7 separate regions of the Homo sapiens genome follow, and all the other regions are linked to region 1. The links are contacts of gene promoters, found by promoter capture Hi-C in blood cells and fetal thymus (Javierre and others, 2016). All regions are on one chromosome and are shown on one strand. Each heading gives the region's core, a stretch centred on a gene start or on the middle of the fragment in contact. The rest is flanking DNA. Distances are from core to core; before and after follow the strand shown.

Region 1 (2,700 bases), core at 180-2,679:
CCTTAATTTAAAACCACTTATCTGCTCCAAACCTTCTAAAGAGTTGGCTATAGAAACAACCAAAGAAAAGGGGCTGATTTCGAAATTATGTGTCAGCAGGAGTAGAGAGAGGAGAGTTGTAAGAGGTGATATGTGGAGAGGTCTAAGTGTTCAGGAAAAGCAAGAACTGAGAGCCAGAAGTGACGGTGCAATCCTTGAGAGGACATTGGCCGTGGGGAACACCACAAGGTGGATAAGGGACTCAGTCAAGTTCAAGAAAATCTCTGTGGTAGGATGACTCAGCTGGATTACAGGAGCCATTTTTGTTATTTTCAACCATAATTTTTCAGGAGATATTCATTACTAGAAAATGACAAGGTCACGAATTCACTCCCCTTCCTCTTTTTTTCTATTAAATTTCTGGGCCTCAGTTTTCCCATCTATAAAATCTAGAGATTGGGCCTAGAATATCTCTGTAGTTTCCATTAGAGTCTATAGCTCTAATAATAATAACAACACATTTTTATGTTCTCTTTTGAGGTAAATTTACATGCAGTGAAATGTACAAATCTTAAATGTCCCATTCCAAGAGTTTTGACAAGTGCATATACTTCTGTAACCGAAACTCTTAGCTATAGAATTTTTTCATCACTACAAAAAATTCTCTCAAACTCCTCCCCGACAGCCAACCACTATTCTGACTTTTATCACTATTGATTAAATAATTAATATTTAATAGCTATTGTTAAATGCTAAGCTTTGTTTTATAGAGCTTCATCAGTATTAATGCGTGTATTTCTTACAAGAGTTGCAAGATGGATATCTCCATTTTTGCAGATCAAAACGTTAAGAGGTGAGAAAGGCGCCTCTGGTCATCAGCTACCAAGCACAGGGGCAGGACGTGAACTAAGAATTCGTTTTAGAAGCCCACGCTCTTAACCTGTTTATCCTAGAGTCCACAAACGATTGCCAAGAAACAGCATAAATCCAAATTCAGTCGAAAGCAATGCCATTTGCAAATTCTAAAACCTCCTGAATAATCCTAAAGGCCATATGCATTCCATCTTATCGAAGGATTCCCTTCTATCCCCCTCCCCAGAGAATGGAGAAAGGGGGTGCGAAAGACTTCAATTCGGTTTGACTGGAGAAAAACACAGAGGTGGCGTAGGATCCACACATCCCTTGGGGGCAGACCCAGCGGCGGACGCCTGGACAGGCGGCGGGAAAGGCGCTGCGACGCCCCGGGTGCCCCCTCCTTCGACGCCACTGGCATCACCTCCGAAAGCAGCAGGCACGAAGGTGCCCTGCCACGGGGGCTGGACGCAGTGGAGGCAGGCTCATCAAGCACGACCAGAGCTCAGTCGGCCACACGTCCTCCTCAATGTCACTGTCTCCCTGCTCTCCCACCCCGCGCCGCTGCACCTCCCTCCCCCCGGCAACCTGGGCGGGAGTCCCAAGCTCCGCCCCAGAGCGGACTCACAGCCCCCGCGCTCCCTCCCGCGCTGCGCCCACCGCGCGGCCGCGGCTGCCATGGCAACACTACGCCGCCGCCGCCTTTTCACGCACGTCGCGAGCTAACGGACTCGGCGGCGGCGGCGGCGGCGGCCTGCGCCCCACCCGCACCCCATCTGGACCGCATCGCTGAATGTGCCCGGACCTGCGCCTTCTGGGTAATGAATCCGAGAGAAAGGGGCGAGGGCGAGACAGCAGGTGGTGGAGGGCTCTAGCCAACAGCCCCTCTCGGCCTCCCACTGCCGGAGACGCCAGGGCAGTGGGCTGCGGGGTTCCTCGGGCGCTGGCTCCCGTGCGGGGACGGGGAGGGGCGCGGGAGCGCCAGGCTCGCGGTGCATCATGGGAATTGTAGTTCAGCGACTCCTCGGGCTCGCGGTCTTGGTGGGGTAGCTCGGACTGGCGAACTACAAAGCCCGGCGGCCCCGACCGCCGGGAAAGACCGATAAACTTTGAGCGGACCGGGACAGAAAAAAAAATCTCTCTTTGTCTTGAGGGGGCTGTTGAGTGGTCGCGGACCTGGGCTCTGTGCGTTGGGAAAGGGAAGTGGAGGTGAGCCTCGGGCTTCCCGCCCTGTAGCTGGGCCCGCCCCAGTTGCAGCGCTCAGCCCCACCCCGGCTGGGCCACCGCCCTGCACAGTCTCAGGGATGAGCAGCCGCCCAAGCTGCAGGGCCTCGGGTCTTCGGCGCCTCTGACCCTCGCAGGTTGCTGCCTTTCGGTGCAGAACCGTATGTATGTCACACATTGGATGTGAGACCTGAGAAACCGTGTTTTAACAGGTTTTTCTCCTTTCCTGGATACGTTTATTTCTGGGTTAGTCATGTTTGTTTTAAAGTAGCTCAGAGGTGTTTGCATATTAAACCCATCAATTGGTAATTACTCAAAGGGCAGTAATGTTTAAAGGTTAAGTGTGGAAATAGATAAAAAGATGTCATTGCGATTATATGGTGGTATCTGGCATTTTTAACTTTTTGCATTTTTGAATTTTATTTCTTGAGGTTCAAGGTTGTGAAATGAGTGCTCCACCCCACCCCCCCCTTGCCAGCCTGAACACTGCCTACACATATTTTGATTAGTTCAGCTTTAAATTACTAGTAACTTTTAAAAACAGACTTTTTTAGCAGTAGGCAGCAATAATTCTTTGATTATTCCAGTGTTATTCAGAATTTCTCAGCATGTTTTCGGAAGGAAAAATACCATGTTTTAATTATT
Region 2 (2,700 bases), core at 11-2,510, 490 kb before region 1:
TGTGGGGCCTGGCTTTCTAAGGAGCAGCAGAGAATGCTTGGGTGAGGAGGCCTCTCAGCAGGCTGGAAGCGTTTCCTTTCCTATCCAGCCTCCCTCCCTGCCAGGGAATCGTCAAGCCTGAGGGAAGTGCTCCCCCTCCTATGTTTACGAAGCACTAAATTTACGAAGTCATTAATTCCCTTCATAAAGACGGAGCCTAATGGAGTTTTCTATTAGTCATTGAGATCGCGGTTATAACCCTGAAAGATCAAGAAAGCAATCAGGAGTCTAAATTGAAGTGGGAGTCGGGGGGACAGCAAAGACGTTTCTCCTCTTTAGCTGTCAGACTTTCCTGTTTTAAAGGGAAATATTGTGAATATCTTAATCACTACCTCACACATTTGTTTATTATTATTTTTCCTTTTCAGAACATTCAGAAATGTTGTGTAGACGCACAGGATTCATCGTCCAGGCATGTATATCTCAGGGGGCGGTGTTCTTTGTCCTAGTAGCTGAAGCTACCCAAAGATTCCCCCAAAATCCAAACACAGTAGATGCTCAGTGCTATGTGTTGAATGGATACATGAAGGAATGCAGCCAAACCGAGAGGCTGGGGAAGGATTAATGAATTCACGGGCTGTTTGTGGCAGTTCTCTGACCCGAGGCCCCACATGGGACTTTTGTACCTTCAAAGATGTGAAGATTAGCTAAACTGTTGCTGTTTAGCAAATCTTCTAGGGTGAGTTTCTAGGGTGTTTCTAGGGTGAGTGGTCACCTTAGGGAGAGCCAGGGTCAGGGTCACGGCCCCCACAAGGCCAGGCACACAGCCCTGGGGTGCTCTGGACAGGAAAACTAGAAATAGAGGACCCTGTTTTCCCAGTGCCCAAATTACTCAGGCCTCCAGGGAGTCCCTTACCCCATTCGAGGCCATAGAGCTGCAGGGAGCCATCCTGCCCTGAGCCTGCTCGTCTCTTTGCAAGCCCAGGCCACCCACTTTGGGCTTTGGGCGGAGAAGACAGGTGTATTTCTAGTCAAGAGAAGTTTCCCTGCACAGAGTCCAAGGAACGGCCTCCTCTGGGGCCTTACAGGCCCTCCACAGCTCAACAGTGAGCCCAGCAAAGACGCCTCTTGACTTCGGTGTAGCCTCATCTTCCAGAGAATTCCCTGAGATGCCACGTGGCTGTAAGAAACGCTGCTGCAGTCCAAGGAGACAGCAAGGGAAGCTGTGTTGGAGGGAAAGCAGCAGTTTTCAAAATACACCCACAGACTTGTACCAAGACCACCAGGAAGGGAAGCTCATTCGAAATGTAGACTCTCCCCCTACTACCGCCACCATCAGCAGCTCCTGCAAAACCAGAATGTCTAATGCCGGGGAGTGGGGGAGGTCGGCCTTCACTCGAGGAAAGAGGCTTAAAGGGTTTCTTCACCTGTCTGTGGGCCCCTGACACGTGCAGCCCTCCTGGGCTCCAGGAGTGGTCCCAGAAGACTCCCCTTTCAGGTGCAGGAATCCTGGGTTCCACAGCAGGGGTGCTGCCAGTGGCTGCCTGGGACTCCCAGGATATCCCTCCTGGTGAAGCCAGTCAGCAGATCAGAGGTTTCAGTCCTTACTGACTGTGAAATCTAGTGTGTGTGGTCACTCTTTTTACCTCCTTGCTCCTGCGTAAGATCCAAGTGGAGAGTAGAATCTCTCCACCAGCCCCTCCATAGTGTGTTTCAGGTACCCTAGACAGGGCCTCTGTCCCCCTTGGCTACCTACTTGGCACTTGGGGTCTGACCCTGTCCTGTTTACATCCCTGGCGAGGAACCTCCCTGAGCAGTTGTCAGTGGGAGAAATGTACAGGGGGGCACCAGGATCAGGGCTGACTTAAGGGAAGGAATTCCCAACCTCTGGCTGTACAGTGAGGTCAGGGAATCTTGGAGACTGTTGCACCTTTGTGGGACCCATCTCTTTGGAGAGCCTTTTGGAAGGGTGCTGGGATGTTCATCTTTGTGTTAGTCTTTCCACTGGGCCATGCCCATGCTGCTACAGGCTAGTAGCTGGAGCCAAATCCTGGCCCTGCGTCTCACAGCTGTGTGACCTCGGGTCCATTACTCACCTTCTCTGAGCTGGTTTCCCTATCTGTAAAGTAGAAACAATCATAATGATAATGGAGACAATGTTCCTGCAGCGTGAATGAGATAACAAAAGCTCATGTCAGACGCGTAGGTGGTGCTGAAACATGTCTGCTGCTTCTCCCCTCCTCCAGCGTTTCACACTGTGCACCCACACTGGGAACTTAGGGGAGTTCCTGGACCCTCAGGGGAATGATATCACAGAACCATTCTAATTGCCTAAGTCTCACAAGCAATCTGATATGCCTAGTATTTGTTCCTGAGTCTGAGAGGAGATCGTTATTGTTCATCTTTTAAAGCAACAGGTCGCCCAGTCTGTTGACGATACCTCCCATCAAGACATATGCTCCACCAAGCTAGGAGCGGATGATGCCAGAGCCGCCTTGCTTCTTGGATTTTCTTCTGAGCCCCACCGTGCTGGGGAGACTCTGAGCATGGTAAATATTTAAGCACACGTCTTGTGTAACTGTCACAGATCCGGATGCACCGGGAGCCATGGAGCCACAAGCTGGCACCTGTCTAAGTGTCCCAGCTTCGAGAGACGGTGTTTGTGCCAACATTGGGAGTCTGTTGGCGACCAGTGGCTGATAGGTAGCAGAATTCTGTGGT
Region 3 (2,700 bases), core at 110-2,609, 470 kb before region 1:
ATTATCTGGCCCCAAATGTCAAATGTGCTGAGGCCAAGAAACCCCGAGCTAGGGGATTACTGCAATAATCTAGGTGAGAGGTTACTTATTAAATAGCAACTGAGCACCTACTATGTGCTGAGAGCTGAGAACATAGCAATGAGCAAAACAGACAAAGCCCTCTGCCCTCATGGAGCTTTATGCTGCAGTGATGGTGGAAGTTTAGAATGGCATTGGGCAGTGGGGGTGGTGAGAATGGTCAGATCTTAAAAATAATTTTTCGAAGGTAAAACTGACAGGATTTGCTAAGAATGGAATGTGCAGTATGAGAGAAGAGGAGTCAATGTTGATGCCAGGGTTTCATCCTGAGCAATTAGAACAGAGTTACCACTTACTGAGATGGGCCCACTAAGGGAGAAAGTGATTGTGTGGATGGAGAATCAGAGGTTTTGTTTTGGACACATTAAGTAGGGATGAGGGCAATGTGATATTTTAGTCTGGAGGTTAAGAAAGGGATCTCCTTTGGAGAAGACAAATTTTAGAAATTATTAAATGTGAGGAAGATCACTCAGGTATCTGGAGATGTGCAAGAGACTTGTGCAGCAAGCCTGAGCTCTCCATAATTAGGAGGTTGGAGAGTGTCTTAGTCTATTTTGTGTTGCTATAACAGAATACCTGAAGCTGGGTATTCTATTTATAAATTTATTTCTTAAAAAAGAGATTTATTAGACCTAAAACAATAAAAACCCTAGAAGAAAACCTAGGCATTACCATTCAGGACATAGGCATGGGCAAGGACTTCATGTCTAAAACACCAAAAGCAGGGGCAACAAAAGCCAAAATTGACAAATGGGATCTAATTAAACTAAGGAGCTTCTGCACAGCAAAAGAAACTACCATCAGAGTGAAAAGGCAACCTACAAAATGGGAGAAAATTTTCTCAACCTACTCATCTGACAAAGGGCTAATATCCGGAATCTACAATGAACTCAAACAAATTTACAAGAAAAAAACAAACAACCCCATCAAAAAGTGGGCGAAGGACATGAACAGACACTTCTCAAAAGAAGACACTTATGCAGCCAAAAAACACAGGAAAAAATGCTCACCATCACTGGCCATCAGAGAAATGCAAATCAAAACCACAATGAGATACCATCTCACACCAGTTAGAATGACAATAATTAAAAAGTCAGGAAAGAACAGGTGCTGGAGAGGATGTGGAGAAACAGGAACACTTTTACACTGTTGGTGGGACTGTAAACTAGTTCAACCATTGTGGAAGACAGTGTGGCGATTCCTCAGGGATCTAGAACTAGAAATACCATTTGACCCAGCCATCCCATTACTGGGTATATACCCAAAGGACTATAAATCATGCTGCTATAAAGACACATGTACACGTATGTTTACTGCGGCACTATTCACAATAGCAAAGACTTGGAACCAATCCAAATGTCCAACAATGATAGACTGGATTAAGAAAATGTGGCACATATACACTATGGAATACTATGCAGCCATAAAAAATGATGAGTTCATGTCCTTTGTAGGGACATGGATGAAATTGGAAATCATCATTCTCAGTAAACTATCACAGGGACAAAAAACCAAACACTGCATGTTCTCACTCATAGGTGGGAAATGAACAATGAGAACACATGGACACAGGAAGGGGAACATCACACTCTGGGGACTGTTGTGGGATGGGGGGAAGGGGGAGGGATAGCATTAGGAGATATACCTAACGCTAAATGATGAGTTAATGGGTGCAGCACACCAGCATGGCACATGTATACATATGTAATTAACCTGCACATTGTGCACATGTACCCTAAAACTTAAAGTATAATTAAAAAAAAAAGAACTTAAAATGAAAAAAAAAAAAAAGAGAGATTTATATAGCTCATGGTTCTACAGGCTGGGAAGTTCAAGGAGCATGGTGCTAACATCTGCTCCTCATGAAACAGTGGAAGGTCAAAGGAAAGGGGCAAAACTTAGAGGTGTCCTCACTTTGTAACAACCCACCCTCAAAGGGAAACAATCTATTCCCAAGAGAACTAATCCAAGAGTGGGAATTCAATCACTACCTTGAGAACAGTACTAAGCCATTCATGAGGGATCCACCTCCCATGACCCAAACACCTCCCACCAGACCCCAACTCCCAACACAGCCACAGTGGAGATCAAATTTCAATATGAGATCTGGTGGGGATAAACAAACCATATCCAAACCATATTATTCCACCTCTGGCCCCACAAAACTTATGCCCTCCTCATTGTAAAATACAATTATCCCTTCCCAATAGTCTCCAAAAGTCTTAACTTGTTCCGGCATCAACTAGAATGTCTAAAGTCCAAAGTCTCATCTGAGACTCAAGGCAAGCTCCTTCCAACTCTGAGCCTGTAAAATCAAAAACAAGTTTTTTACTTCCAAGATAAACATTCCCATTCCAAAGGGGAAAAAATCAGACAAACTAAAAGAATGACAAGTCCCACACAAGTTCAAAGCCCAGTAGACCGAACATTAAATCTTAAAGCTCCAGGTGCTGCCTCCTAGGCACACTGGTGAAAGGGGTAGGCTCCCAAGACCTTGAGCAGCCCCATCCCCATGGTTTTGCTGGGCAGAGCCCATGTGGGTGCTCCAGGGCTTGAAATCAGACACCTGTAGCTTTCCCAGGCAGGCACTACATGCTGCTAGTAGCTCTACAATTCTGGGGT
Region 4 (2,700 bases), core at 153-2,652, 440 kb before region 1:
AAAAAATTCTTAATTGTCTAAGGGATTTGCTCATTAGAAATGTGAACTGCCTAGTGATTTGACATTGGGTCCGTATTCAACCATTCCTGACTATTAGTTCAAGTCACCTTCGTTCCTAATAAAACATGGTCAGCCTGGAGTTGAATGAAATTCTCCCAGCTGTAAGAAAATGGGTTCCTCCTGTGGATTTCCAGAATATTCTCAGAGCCTTGTTCCTGGCTCTGGCTCAAGCCAGTCCCTCTCGCCATCCAGGACTTCAAGTGCAGCTTCTACCCAAAGCTGCAAGCTTATGTGCCCCTCCTGGAGAGGGGGTTGCTGCTGGGCTGAATTCAAGTGGCTTTAGCCATGACAGCTGCCCAGTGGCTGCTCGTGTAGTCTTTGAAGTTCACATGGTCTGGGCCCAATGCCATGGCTGCCTCTTATGGGCTATGTGAGTGTGGGTGCATTTCCTAGCCTCAATGAGCCTCAGTTTGCTCATCTACAAGAGGTGGATGGAGACATTAGTAATTACTTCCCTAGACTGTTGTGAGAATGAAACAAGGTGAAGTGCCACCTGGCTCACAGTAAGCATTCAATAAGTGGTGGCTATCATTGTTCCAATGTCTTCCTTCTTAACCCCCAGTGGAAATGTCTTTCCTATTGACAAATTATTATTATTCTGGATTTTCTTTTGAGAAATTTTGCGCTATTTTTTCTGCAAAACAGAACTGATGAACCCATTTTGAGTCTCATTCCTTGAGGTCTAAATAGGAGCTACTCAGCAGATCTTGCAACAATTTGCTGTGGTATGTTCAACTTGATGTGCTGCACTATTCATGTTTTTATGGAGAAAAGAATTCGTTGCTATATTCCCTTTCATTTTTCTCCACCTCTGGGAATAAAACATAGAAACTCTTTAGTGTTCCGTTAATTAGTTTGGATTAATTTAAAGTAAGTAAATATAATTAATAACAGTTTATTAATAATAGTGTCAATACTAATTGACAGGATCATTGTAGACCTATCACCTTTAAATAATTTTACAAGTCTATGCCACTTGAAAGTGAGTCTAGGCCAGGCACCAGTGGCTCACGTCTGTAATCTGAGCACTCTGGGAGGCCGAGGCGGGCAGATCACCTGAGGTAAGGAGTTTGAGACCAGGCTGGCCAGCATAGTGAAACCCTGTCTCTACTAAAGATACAAAAATTAGCCGGACATGGTGGTGCATGCTGTAATCCCAGCTACTCAGGAGGCTGAGGCACAAAAATTGCTTAAGCCCGGAAGGCAGAGGTTGCAGTCAGCCAAGATTGCACCACTGCACTCCAGCCTGGTGACAGAGTGAAGCTCCATCTCAAAAAAAAATAAAAATAAAAAACAGAAAGAAAGTGAGTCTAGAATGGACACCAAGAGATAAGAGATGCAGGGAGAAGCGACATGAGGGTGGTATTCCAAAAACATGTTTTGATACACTCTGCAAAAAGTGGGCGGTAGGGGTGTCTGTAGTTAAATAATACATTCCCCTCTTAGAAAACCAAGAATCAGAATACCCTTAAACGTCCTCAAAAGTCTGTCTATAAAGAACTTGTTATCCCCTGTAACACCTGTTAAAAGTCCATGAACTTGTAATCCATTTAGAAAATTACACCTCTCCAGAGACCCTTCTCCTCTCTGCAACCTGTGCTTACTTACACTCACAAAGAGGAATCTTAGGTCAGCTAACAAGGATTTTTCTCCAAAAACCAAACTTTGACCAAGGCTGCTCTAGCCATGCTCATTGGCTGGGAATAGGACATTAAACTGTGTTTTATACATGTGAACAGGCCAGGCACGGTGGCTCACACCTGTAATTCCAACACTTTGAGGGGCCAAGGCGGGTGGATAACCTGAGGTCAGGAGTTCAAGACCAGCCTGACATGGTGAAACCCCGTCTCTACTAAAAATACAAAAATTAGTCAGGCATGGGGGCATGTGCCTATAATCCCAGCTACTCAGGAGGCTGAAGCAGGAGAATAACTTGAACCTGGGAGGCCGAGGTTGCAGTGAGCCAAGATCGTGCCACTGCACTCCAGCCTAGGCAACAGAGTGTGACTCTGTCTTTCAAAAGAATGAATTAATTAGAATTAAAATATACACGTGAACAGAGTCCAGGTCCAATTCCTTTTAGCTCTCAAACCCTGGCTCAGCTCTGCCCTCATGGGAGATGGGTGGAGGGACAGCCCATTAATTAAGGCCAAGTCTGAGCCGATGAGCCACACTGGCTAGTGTATCTGTTCAGCAGCTGCCCCAGAATCTTGAGCTATCTGTATCAGTCAGCAGTTGTGTTTTATGCTAAAAATACATGCATCTGTCTTTTTAATCCACCAGTATCATTTATCCTTCATGCTGTTTTTCCTTGATAGCCATGGTCCCTAAACATTTATGATCCCACACCCCATGAACCAAAAATTTTGAGCATGCAACCTTATAACAAGTATATTTGCATATAAACTATATACACATACTACTGTCCATGTGTATATTAAAAATGAGGAAAGCTTCATGTCTTACTTTTCAGATAGCAAGATTAAATGCATGTTCTTTTCTTCCTGCAGCCTCATGGGTCATCTTGCAACCCTTTTCAGTGCTCTTGGATGCCCCTGGAGAAGCTGCTGCTGGGACGACTTTCTCCTAGAATAACACACAACCCCATTCCCAGTGGTTTCCTGGCACAGGCAAACAGAC
Region 5 (2,700 bases), core at 158-2,657, 450 kb after region 1:
ACCCCAGTCCTGCCTCGATTCCCAGAAGTAGCCATCTGAGCTTTAGCCACTTCCCTTCTCTGCCTCACTCTGCCCTGAGTCTAGGTCCATGTGTTTTCTTCCTGATTACCCTGCCTGTTCACTTGGCTTTCACCTGGTTAAACTCCACACGCCTCAAGGCTGAGTTTGCTTTATTTCCTCTGTGCTTTCAAAGTGCCTAGTGCATATTCCTGTGGTAGCATTTAGCAACTCACCATATGGCATTTTAATTTTCACCTTACTTGTCTGTGTTTCTTACTGGACTCTGAGCAAAGTGGGAAGCGTCTTGAGACGGAAACTAGGGCTGCATCAGGGAAAGGTCAATCTCTTAGTTATTAGGTTGGTGCATGAATACAATGGCATAGGGAGTGGGAGGAGAGAGCAGTGTGCTATGATTGTTCCTCAGACCACTCACGACTGTGGCCATGGGTCACCTTTATAAATCACATTACCTTCAGGTGAGCACTCTCATAAGAGAAACTAACTGGGAAAAGGTGGGGAGCTGGGCAGAAGGAATCTGGCATATGCAGTGTTTCTCCACTGCACATTAGAATTGCTTTAGAGATTTGGAACATACCAGTGTCAGGCCCCACCCTGAACAGTCTGATTTGGTTGGTCTGGAGGAGGGCTCAGGTATTTGCCTTTTTAAATGACTCCCAGCGATTCTTTTTTTCTTTAATATTTTAATTTGACAAATCATGATGTATACATTCATGGGGTACGCTGTGATGCTTTGATATGTCTATGCAACCCGGAATGATTACATCAAGCTGATGAGCGTTAACTATCACTTCCTTTACATAACCTTCCTCATCATTTTTTGTGGTGAGACATCTGAAACTTACTCAATGATTTTGAGACATACACCTACATTATTGTTGACTATAGTCCTTCTGCTATGCAACAGTTCTCAAAACTTACTCCTCCTGTCTAACTGGAATTTTGTACCCTTTGATTGACAACTCGCCATTCCTCCCCACTCCCACTCCCTCAACTTCTGGTAACCATCATGCTTAAGATATGGAATCAGCCTAAGTGTCTATGAACAGATGAATGGATAAAGAAAATGTGGTATATAAACACAATGGAATACTATTCAACCATAAAAAGGAAGAAATCCTGTCATTTGCAATAGTATGGATGAAACTGGAGGCCATTATGTTAAGTGAAATAAGCCAGGCACAGAAAGATAAATACCGCATGATTTCACTTATATGTGGAATTCCAGTGATTCTTATAGGAAGCAAGTTGAGAATCTCTGTTTAGGAAAGTGTGGGGTTAAAGAGCTGGAGGTATCTGCCATATGTGTATGGGAGTAAAAAGAGGTCACCCAGCCTGTCCTATCTATTCCTTTGCTTTACACGATTGAATTTTATTCTTTATATTGCAAACTGCTTCAGAGGACAATTCTCAAATCTAAACACACATTCATTCTGCTCCAGCAAGAGTAAAGACTAAGGGAGGAAAATCTATTACAAAACCATTCAGTAAATTATCTCTAGTTTCAGAGGAAAGCCCTTGGCCACTTGTGGTAGGGAATCAACATTTCTTTTTTTCTTTTTTTCTGGAGACGGAGTTTTGCTCTTGTTGCCCGGGCTGGAGTCCAGTGGCGTGATCTCGGCTCACTGCAACCTCTGCCTCCCAGGTTCAAGTGATTCTCCCGCCTCAGCCTCCTGAGTAGCTGGGATTACAGGCGTCTGCCACCACTCCCAGCTAATTTTTTTTGTATTTTTAGTAGAGACAGGGTTTCGCTGTGTTGGCCAGGCTGGTCTCAAACTCCTGATCTCAGGTGATCTACCCGCCTTGGCCTCCCAAAGGGCTGGGATTACAGGCATGAGCCGCTGCACGTGGCAGAATCAACATTTCTTGAGACCCCTTCTATGTTAGAGGTTTTCACATAGTTTTCTCATGGGAAGTACAGAATAATTTTACTAAGTCTTTGAAGTGACTCTTACATTGGCTAGAATCAAATAAAAGACTTAAAGCAGAACCTTAGGCATGGGTAGAGTTGTGATTGCCCTCACACTGGGCCCCTGCCCCTGGGCCATGACCAGAACACATAGGGTTCCAGCTGCCCTTTGATAGGAAACTCCACACTGTGTCTGGGGGTCTGGGTACCTGCAGATCAGGCCAGCCTTGAGCAAAACTGAATGGAGATGGCAAAGGCTGTCTCTGCTTCTTATGGCATTTTCCTACTCTCTGATCCTTTGTAAATGACAGAGCATGGCATCATGAGATAATCAACTAAAGAACCACATGATAAAAGTTTACTGGTTTCACAGAAAGTAATTCTTCCATTTAGTTATTTTAACTTCATGAGGTTCCTTGAGAAGATCCTTCAGGAATGATCTTAAGATGGGAGCCATTTTAGACACTTACATGGTAGATGGGGGAGATATATTTGTTAACAAATGTATGAGATATAGTTTACATATTATAAAATCCACTCATTTCTCAATAGCTCTATGGTAGAAACAATTGACGTGTCTATCCATGGATAAATGAATACATAAAATGTGGTATATACATACAATGGAAAATTAATCAGCCATACAAGGGAAGGAAATCCTGACATGTTATAATATGGATAAATCTTGAAGACATTTTTCTAAGTGAAATAAGCTAGCCACAAAAAGACAAATACCATATGATTCTATTCATATGAAGTACTCAGAGTAGTAA
Region 6 (2,700 bases), core at 10-2,509, 510 kb before region 1:
GATGTCACTGCACTTTCAGCATCCAATTTGATGAGAGCTGTAGGATTCAAGATTTACTTCCGTGAAAACTGATAAGTGTAAAACGTAAGGCCAAAGCACCAGGGCCAATTATATCTACAGTCTTGTTACATTTGTCATAATCCTACAGCAAAAGAAACACCAAACTAATCATTAACTTGACAAGCTATTCACTCCAGACCTGCCTTCCTATTACATGTGCCTTAGAAGATTTGGAGCATTCTTTTCTGTTAGAATTCTTTGTGGTATCAAATAAATACTCCTTTTTTCTTCAAAGCTGACTATTTTGGATTATTCTGATGAGTTGGGAGAGACATCAAAGGTCCTTTCTGTAGGTGAGTCAGTTGGTTCATTCACTTACTGAGTACGTATTATGCAGGCATGTCATGCCAGGCACCATGGATGTGACTGGGAGTACAACAGTGGCAAAACCAGACACAGCCCCTGGTCACATGAAGGCCCAGTCTAGTCAGGGAGACGCAAGAAGTCTGAGTAATGACACCAACAAATAAATAATCCCAAGCGGGGCTGAGATTTAGCATGGAAGAAGTGGCTCTTCAAGAGCAGGTGGCCAGACACCCAGCCTAGGCTGAGGGTCAGGGCAGCTGTGACCAAAAGAGGGAGATGCCTGAGACAGGAAGGAGGAGTGAGGCAGGGATGGCACAGGGAGCGGCAGGTGCCAGAAGCTGGTGGGTGGGGACATAGTACTTGGACATGCTATGCAAAGGGGACAAGGGCACCTGAGCACGAGGAGCCAGGATAGGTACAGACAGGGGCCCGATGTGGTGGAGCCTTGGGAGCACCCTTAGGAATGCAGTCTTTATCTTAAAGGAGACTGGGACCCATAGGTTTTAACAAGGTGAGACGCAATCAGATTTACATATAGAAAAGTGTTTGGGTGAGTAGATTGAATAGAGGAGGACCAAATATGAAGCTGGCTTAGGCATGCAAGGCTGGGGTCTGAGGCCAGGAAACAGAGTGTAGGAACAGCTGGAAATAAGGGGTGGAAGTGAGAATTACAGAGGAGGTGAAAGAAACAGGCACTTGAGAGAGGAGAGATTTCTGAGGAGAGGATTTCTGAGGGGGCGGGTGCGTCAATGAGGACTCCAACACGTCCGACTTGCATAACTTAGTGAGTGCCGTGCCATTCACCAGGAGTGGGCCAGGCTGGAGGGGTGGATGTGGTGAAATATCTGAGTGGTGAGGCTGAGCAGACCTTTGGAGATATGCAGAGGAGAGATGTGGGCTGGAGACATGAACTTGGAATTCATCACCATCTAGATGGTCGTCAATGTCCTGGGCATGAATGATGAGCCAAGGGAGAGAACAGAATGAATCTCGGGTTCCTGGAAAATGACTCTGGAATGTGGGGCTGATATGAGTCATGGAACTTCACATCAAGCTCCTGCATTTCAGGTCCAAACCCATTCACTGCTGTGCAACCCGTCTATGACCGTAACAGCTAAAAATAAAAAGGCTTTGCTCTACACATGAGAAACCTTAGGAAAAAGGCTTCAGTAGGACAGACCATCAAATAACACAGGATTCTGGTGTTTATAAAGTCATTTATCACAGGCCGGGTGCGTGCCTCACACCTGTAGTCCCAGCACTTTGGGAGGCTGAGGCGGGTGGATCACAAAGTCAGGAGTTTAAGACCAGCCTGGCCAAGATGGTGAAACCCCGCCTCTAGTAAAAATACAAAAATTAGCTGGGGGTGGTGGCAGGTGCCTGTAATCCCAGCTACTTGGGAGGCTGAGGCAGAGAATTGCTTGAACCCAAGAGGCAGAGAATTGCTTGAACCCAAGAGGCAGAGGTTGCAGTGAGCCAAGATCACACCACTGCACTCCAGCCTGGGCGACAGAGCGATACTCTGTCTCAAAAAAAAAAAAAAAAGTCGTTTATCACAAAGTTTGAGTCAAGTCTGCCTGCATGTGCCTAACTACGCACACTCCTCCGTGGACCAATTGGCATGGTCAGGCTGAGACAGCCCCTGGGGGACAGGCTTAGTTCCTAATGAGATTGAGACGGAATGGGTCCCAGAAGTTTTCTTTTCATGGTTCACTTGTACAGAATCAAAGATGCTCACTCAGGTCTCTCTGCTCATATATCTTGCTCACTAATTTGATTAACCCCTATCAGCCAAGCCCAGGATATATGGGATCCTGGGACAAAGATCTTTGTTTTTTTTGTTGTTGCCCACTGAGAACATGTTGATCAAGGTGTAGTGTAATTATCAGTCCATGAACTCATCAGCCCACTTTTTGTTGTAGTAAACAAATGCAAATTCGGATTCTTGAGCGCATTTCTTTCTTCCTCTCTGTTTTCAGATACGGGCCCTAATAATCAAATCACTAATCTGCGTATTTTTATGTTGCCTTAACTGGTAGGCAAGCATTCAGAATTTCCTAGTGCACCAGTCACTTGTAAATGTCGGTGGTCTATAGCGTGTTGCACCAGACTGGGGGATGACAAGATGTGAAGAAAAGGCCATTTCTGCCGTATGTCAGAGGCATTCTGGCATATAACCCCATGCACAGAAAGTGGTAGGACCTAAGATATTCACCATCATGTCACAGGTTTTGATTTCCAAAAGCTGGTTCCCCAGAGACTGGTGTCATACTTCTAAGGAAGCCATCTGCAATTTGGTCTGCTACAATCACACAGACTAAAATCCATAGTCCT
Region 7 (2,700 bases), core at 38-2,537, 480 kb after region 1:
TCTCTCATCCTTTGCAGAGCCTTCACTTTCTGCTTAAAGTGGACCTTGACTTCTCTTTATCTTGCTCCATTTGCACCTGAAACTTGTCCTCAACTGCAGTGCTAATTCCTTGGTAATGTTTTATAACTTTGTCAGGCAGCTAGACACTGTAAGTATAGAACATGCTGGGAAATCCAAATTAAAAATGACAGTTGGCACAAAGCTGACTTCTGGGAGGGACCAAGGAAAAGTAGCCAGAGTGGCAGGATAGCTGCTTCCATCACGGATTGCCAGCAATGTAAAGCGTAGACTCCAGAGGAACAGTGCTAACTTAAATTAACTATGCAGGCATCAGTACTTCTGGTTCTGATGGCCCGGGGATTTCTAAGTAGTAGTGAGTCTCAGCATTATTTGTTATACAGTCTACTGCTAGATGAACAAGGCTAAGTCTACAGAGAAGGTAAATTATAGAAATTAGGCCCCGTCTCTACTAAAAATACAAAAAATTAGCCGGGCGCGGTGGTGGGGTCCTGTAGTCCCAGCTACTCGGGAGGCTGACGCAGGAGAATGGCGTGAACCCGGGAGGCGGAGCTTGCAGTGAGCCGAGATAGCGCCACTGCAGTCTGGCCTGGGCGAAAGAGCGAGACTCCGTCTTAAAAAAAAAAAAAAAAAGAAATTAGGTAAAAGGATTGGAATCTTAGCTAATTGGTCTGAAATTCAGAGCTAGGCCACAGAATTAGTTGCTCTTTCATAAATTTCATTACCTGTACTCTAGCAATTGTAAGTGTTTTTATGTGTTTCTCCCACTAAACAGACTATGTACTTACTCTGAGGGCAGAGAGGCCTCATCTTTCTAAACTGCTGTGTCTAGCACAGTGCCTACTAAATAAGGAAAACTCAATGAATGTTGAATTAGCACTGCAGGTGTCTGATAGAACTTAGCACAATCATGGAAATGTTCTTTATTGTGTCGTCTAGTAAGGTAGCCACGTGCTGGGCTACTTGTGTCTATTGGGCACTTTCTTCATGGCTAGTGTTTGAGGAAGCGAATTTTTACTTATGTTTAATTTTAATGAAAATATCTATGTGTATCTAGTGGCTACTATTATTGGACAGTGCACTTGTATGGTTTATATAATACTTTCAGTGGACTAAAAAGATCTTTGACTTTTTTTGTTTTTTTGTTTGTTTGTTTTTGACTTGTATTCCAAGTGGTCCCAGACTGCTAAGCTTTTTGTTTTACTTTTTGTGATTTTTTAGTTTTTTTCTTCTCTTAATGTCAGCGTTCTTTTTTTTTCTATCATTAAGTAAGCTGTCATCAGCCTTTCTTTTAACTTTTCTGATTTTAGTCAACTATCATATAGAAAGACATATAATCAAGCTTGTAGAATTATCTTTTTTTTTTTTTTTTTCTTTTGAGACGGAGTTTTGCTCTTGTTGCCCAGGCTGGAGTACAATGACGCGATCTTGGCTCACCGCAACCTCCGTCTCCCTGGTTCAAGCGATTCTCCTGCCTCAGCCTCCCGAATAGCTGGGATTACAGGCATGCACTACCACCCCGGCTAATTTTGTATTTTTAGTAGAGACGGGTTTTCTCCATGTTGGTCAGGCTGGTCTTGAACTCCTGACCTCAGGTGATCCACCCACCTCGGCCTCCCAAAGTGCTGGGATTACAGGCGTGAGCCACCGCGCCCAGCAAGAATTATCTTTTTTAAAAGAGCAAGTAGTATAGGAATCTGTGAGTCATTTTACCTCTCCTTAACTTCTGTAAGAGTGTGAAATTACTCATCAGGAAAGAAGAGAAGTCTAAAAAGTATAAATTTTTGTGAGCATTCAGTTGAAAAAATATCAATATGAGATTAGATGAGTCACCAAGGGAGGGAGGGAGGATACCCTGAAGGCACAACCCCTCTATTTGGGAAAAAGGGAATTATGAACGTGAGAAAAGGAACAGAGTTATAGGAAAAAAGAAAAAAAAAATGCTGGATTGTCATTTAAGGCATATAGGGAGAAACTCAAGGAGGCAGATTTGTCAACAACAGCAGATACAGCAAGGAGGTGAGGAATATTGTATAATTTGGTGAAAGCTATATGGGTCTCAATATATTATCAAGTATTTCAATGTGGTCAAGAGTGTTTTTAATATAATTCTTGTAGTTTTCTTCCATACTGATATGCTAGGCATAGAAGGATTCAGTATGTGCATTTTTTTGAAAGTCATTTTTTCCATTCTTGTGCCTGTATCTATATTTTCCAAACACTTTCTAATTGTCAAAATACCTTTGCTTTGCTACTGCATATAATCAGGACAGGCATTAATAGTACTTGCTTTTTGCTCTGAAATTATTCCTTTTTAATCTTACAAAGGTGAATATTTCTATTACAGAATAGTAGGGCTGTTGGTTCAGTAGCAGTCATCTAGTTCATGCTTTGATGCAGAGATTGCGAAGAGATGTTGTTTCTTGTTAAATTCTTTGTACCCAGAGAAGGAGTTTTACTAAAAAATTGGGAAATTAGATTCCCAGCTGTCATAGGAGGGAAGCAAATGGCTTTTTCATTCCCCAAAGTACTGTCTACCTTACTCCTTTGGGACTTCGAACAGGCAGCCAAGAAAAATCAAAAGCTGGGAAAACTTTTTCCCTAAATACCTTTATTCTGGGTTCATTGATAAGTTGTATGTACTGCAGATTGCAGATGTAAGCCTGTTATTATATTTTTGCT

The links. Contacts are between HindIII fragments. The CHiCAGO score rates a contact against its expected background, and 5 or more counts as called.
Region 2: a contact is called between a fragment that was not itself captured here and the fragment with the promoter of KATNAL1 in region 1, in 8 of 17 cell types (neutrophils, naive B cells, total B cells and 5 more). The highest score is 12.8, in neutrophils.
Region 3: a fragment that was not itself captured here is called in contact with the fragment with the promoter of KATNAL1 in region 1 in 4 of 17 cell types (neutrophils, monocytes, total B cells and 1 more); the score reaches 11.9 in neutrophils.
Region 4: a contact is called between a fragment that was not itself captured here and the fragment with the promoter of KATNAL1 in region 1, in 5 of 17 cell types (neutrophils, naive B cells, total CD8 T cells and 2 more). The highest score is 8.9, in neutrophils.
Region 5: a contact is called between a fragment that was not itself captured here and the fragment with the promoter of KATNAL1 in region 1, in 1 of 17 cell types (fetal thymus). The highest score is 6.1, in fetal thymus.
Region 6: a contact is called between a fragment that was not itself captured here and the fragment with the promoter of KATNAL1 in region 1, in 2 of 17 cell types (neutrophils and naive B cells). The highest score is 6.7, in neutrophils.
Region 7: a fragment that was not itself captured here is called in contact with the fragment with the promoter of KATNAL1 in region 1 in 1 of 17 cell types (naive CD4 T cells); the score reaches 5.8 in naive CD4 T cells.

What each region holds. Positions count from the first base shown.
Region 1 is chr13:30,306,280-30,308,979 of GRCh38, reverse strand. KATNAL1 (katanin catalytic subunit A1 like 1) reads left to right here and starts at 1,429. Exons shown (of 11, transcript NM_032116.5): 1 at 1,429-1,649. RefSeq lists silencers at 1,425-1,654, 1,685-1,794. The HindIII fragment of the contact is 2,852 bases long and covers 739-2,700 here.
Region 2 is chr13:30,796,821-30,799,520 of GRCh38, reverse strand. No RefSeq gene overlaps it. Among named protein-coding and RNA genes, the nearest start is that of LINC00398, 5.0 kb to the left of the region's middle. RefSeq lists an enhancer at 1-917. The HindIII fragment of the contact is 3,010 bases long and covers 1-2,700 here.
Region 3 is chr13:30,780,433-30,783,132 of GRCh38, reverse strand. No RefSeq gene overlaps it. Among named protein-coding and RNA genes, the nearest start is that of LINC00398, 21 kb to the left of the region's middle. The HindIII fragment of the contact is 5,080 bases long and covers 1-2,700 here.
Region 4 is chr13:30,746,571-30,749,270 of GRCh38, reverse strand. The region is part of intron 2 of ALOX5AP (arachidonate 5-lipoxygenase activating protein); the gene reads right to left. The region is part of intron 1 of LOC124903146 (a long non-coding RNA gene); the gene reads left to right. Among named protein-coding and RNA genes, the nearest start is that of ALOX5AP, 12 kb to the right of the region's middle. The HindIII fragment of the contact is 2,227 bases long and covers 289-2,515 here.
Region 5 is chr13:29,853,418-29,856,117 of GRCh38, reverse strand. No RefSeq gene overlaps it. Among named protein-coding and RNA genes, the nearest start is that of UBL3, 4.2 kb to the right of the region's middle. The HindIII fragment of the contact is 3,516 bases long and covers 1-2,700 here.
Region 6 is chr13:30,817,126-30,819,825 of GRCh38, reverse strand. No RefSeq gene overlaps it. Among named protein-coding and RNA genes, the nearest start is that of LINC00398, 15 kb to the right of the region's middle. The HindIII fragment of the contact is 7,684 bases long and covers 1-2,700 here.
Region 7 is chr13:29,830,285-29,832,984 of GRCh38, reverse strand. The region is part of intron 1 of UBL3 (ubiquitin like 3); the gene reads left to right. Among named protein-coding and RNA genes, the nearest start is that of UBL3, 19 kb to the left of the region's middle. The HindIII fragment of the contact is 151 bases long and covers 1,212-1,362 here.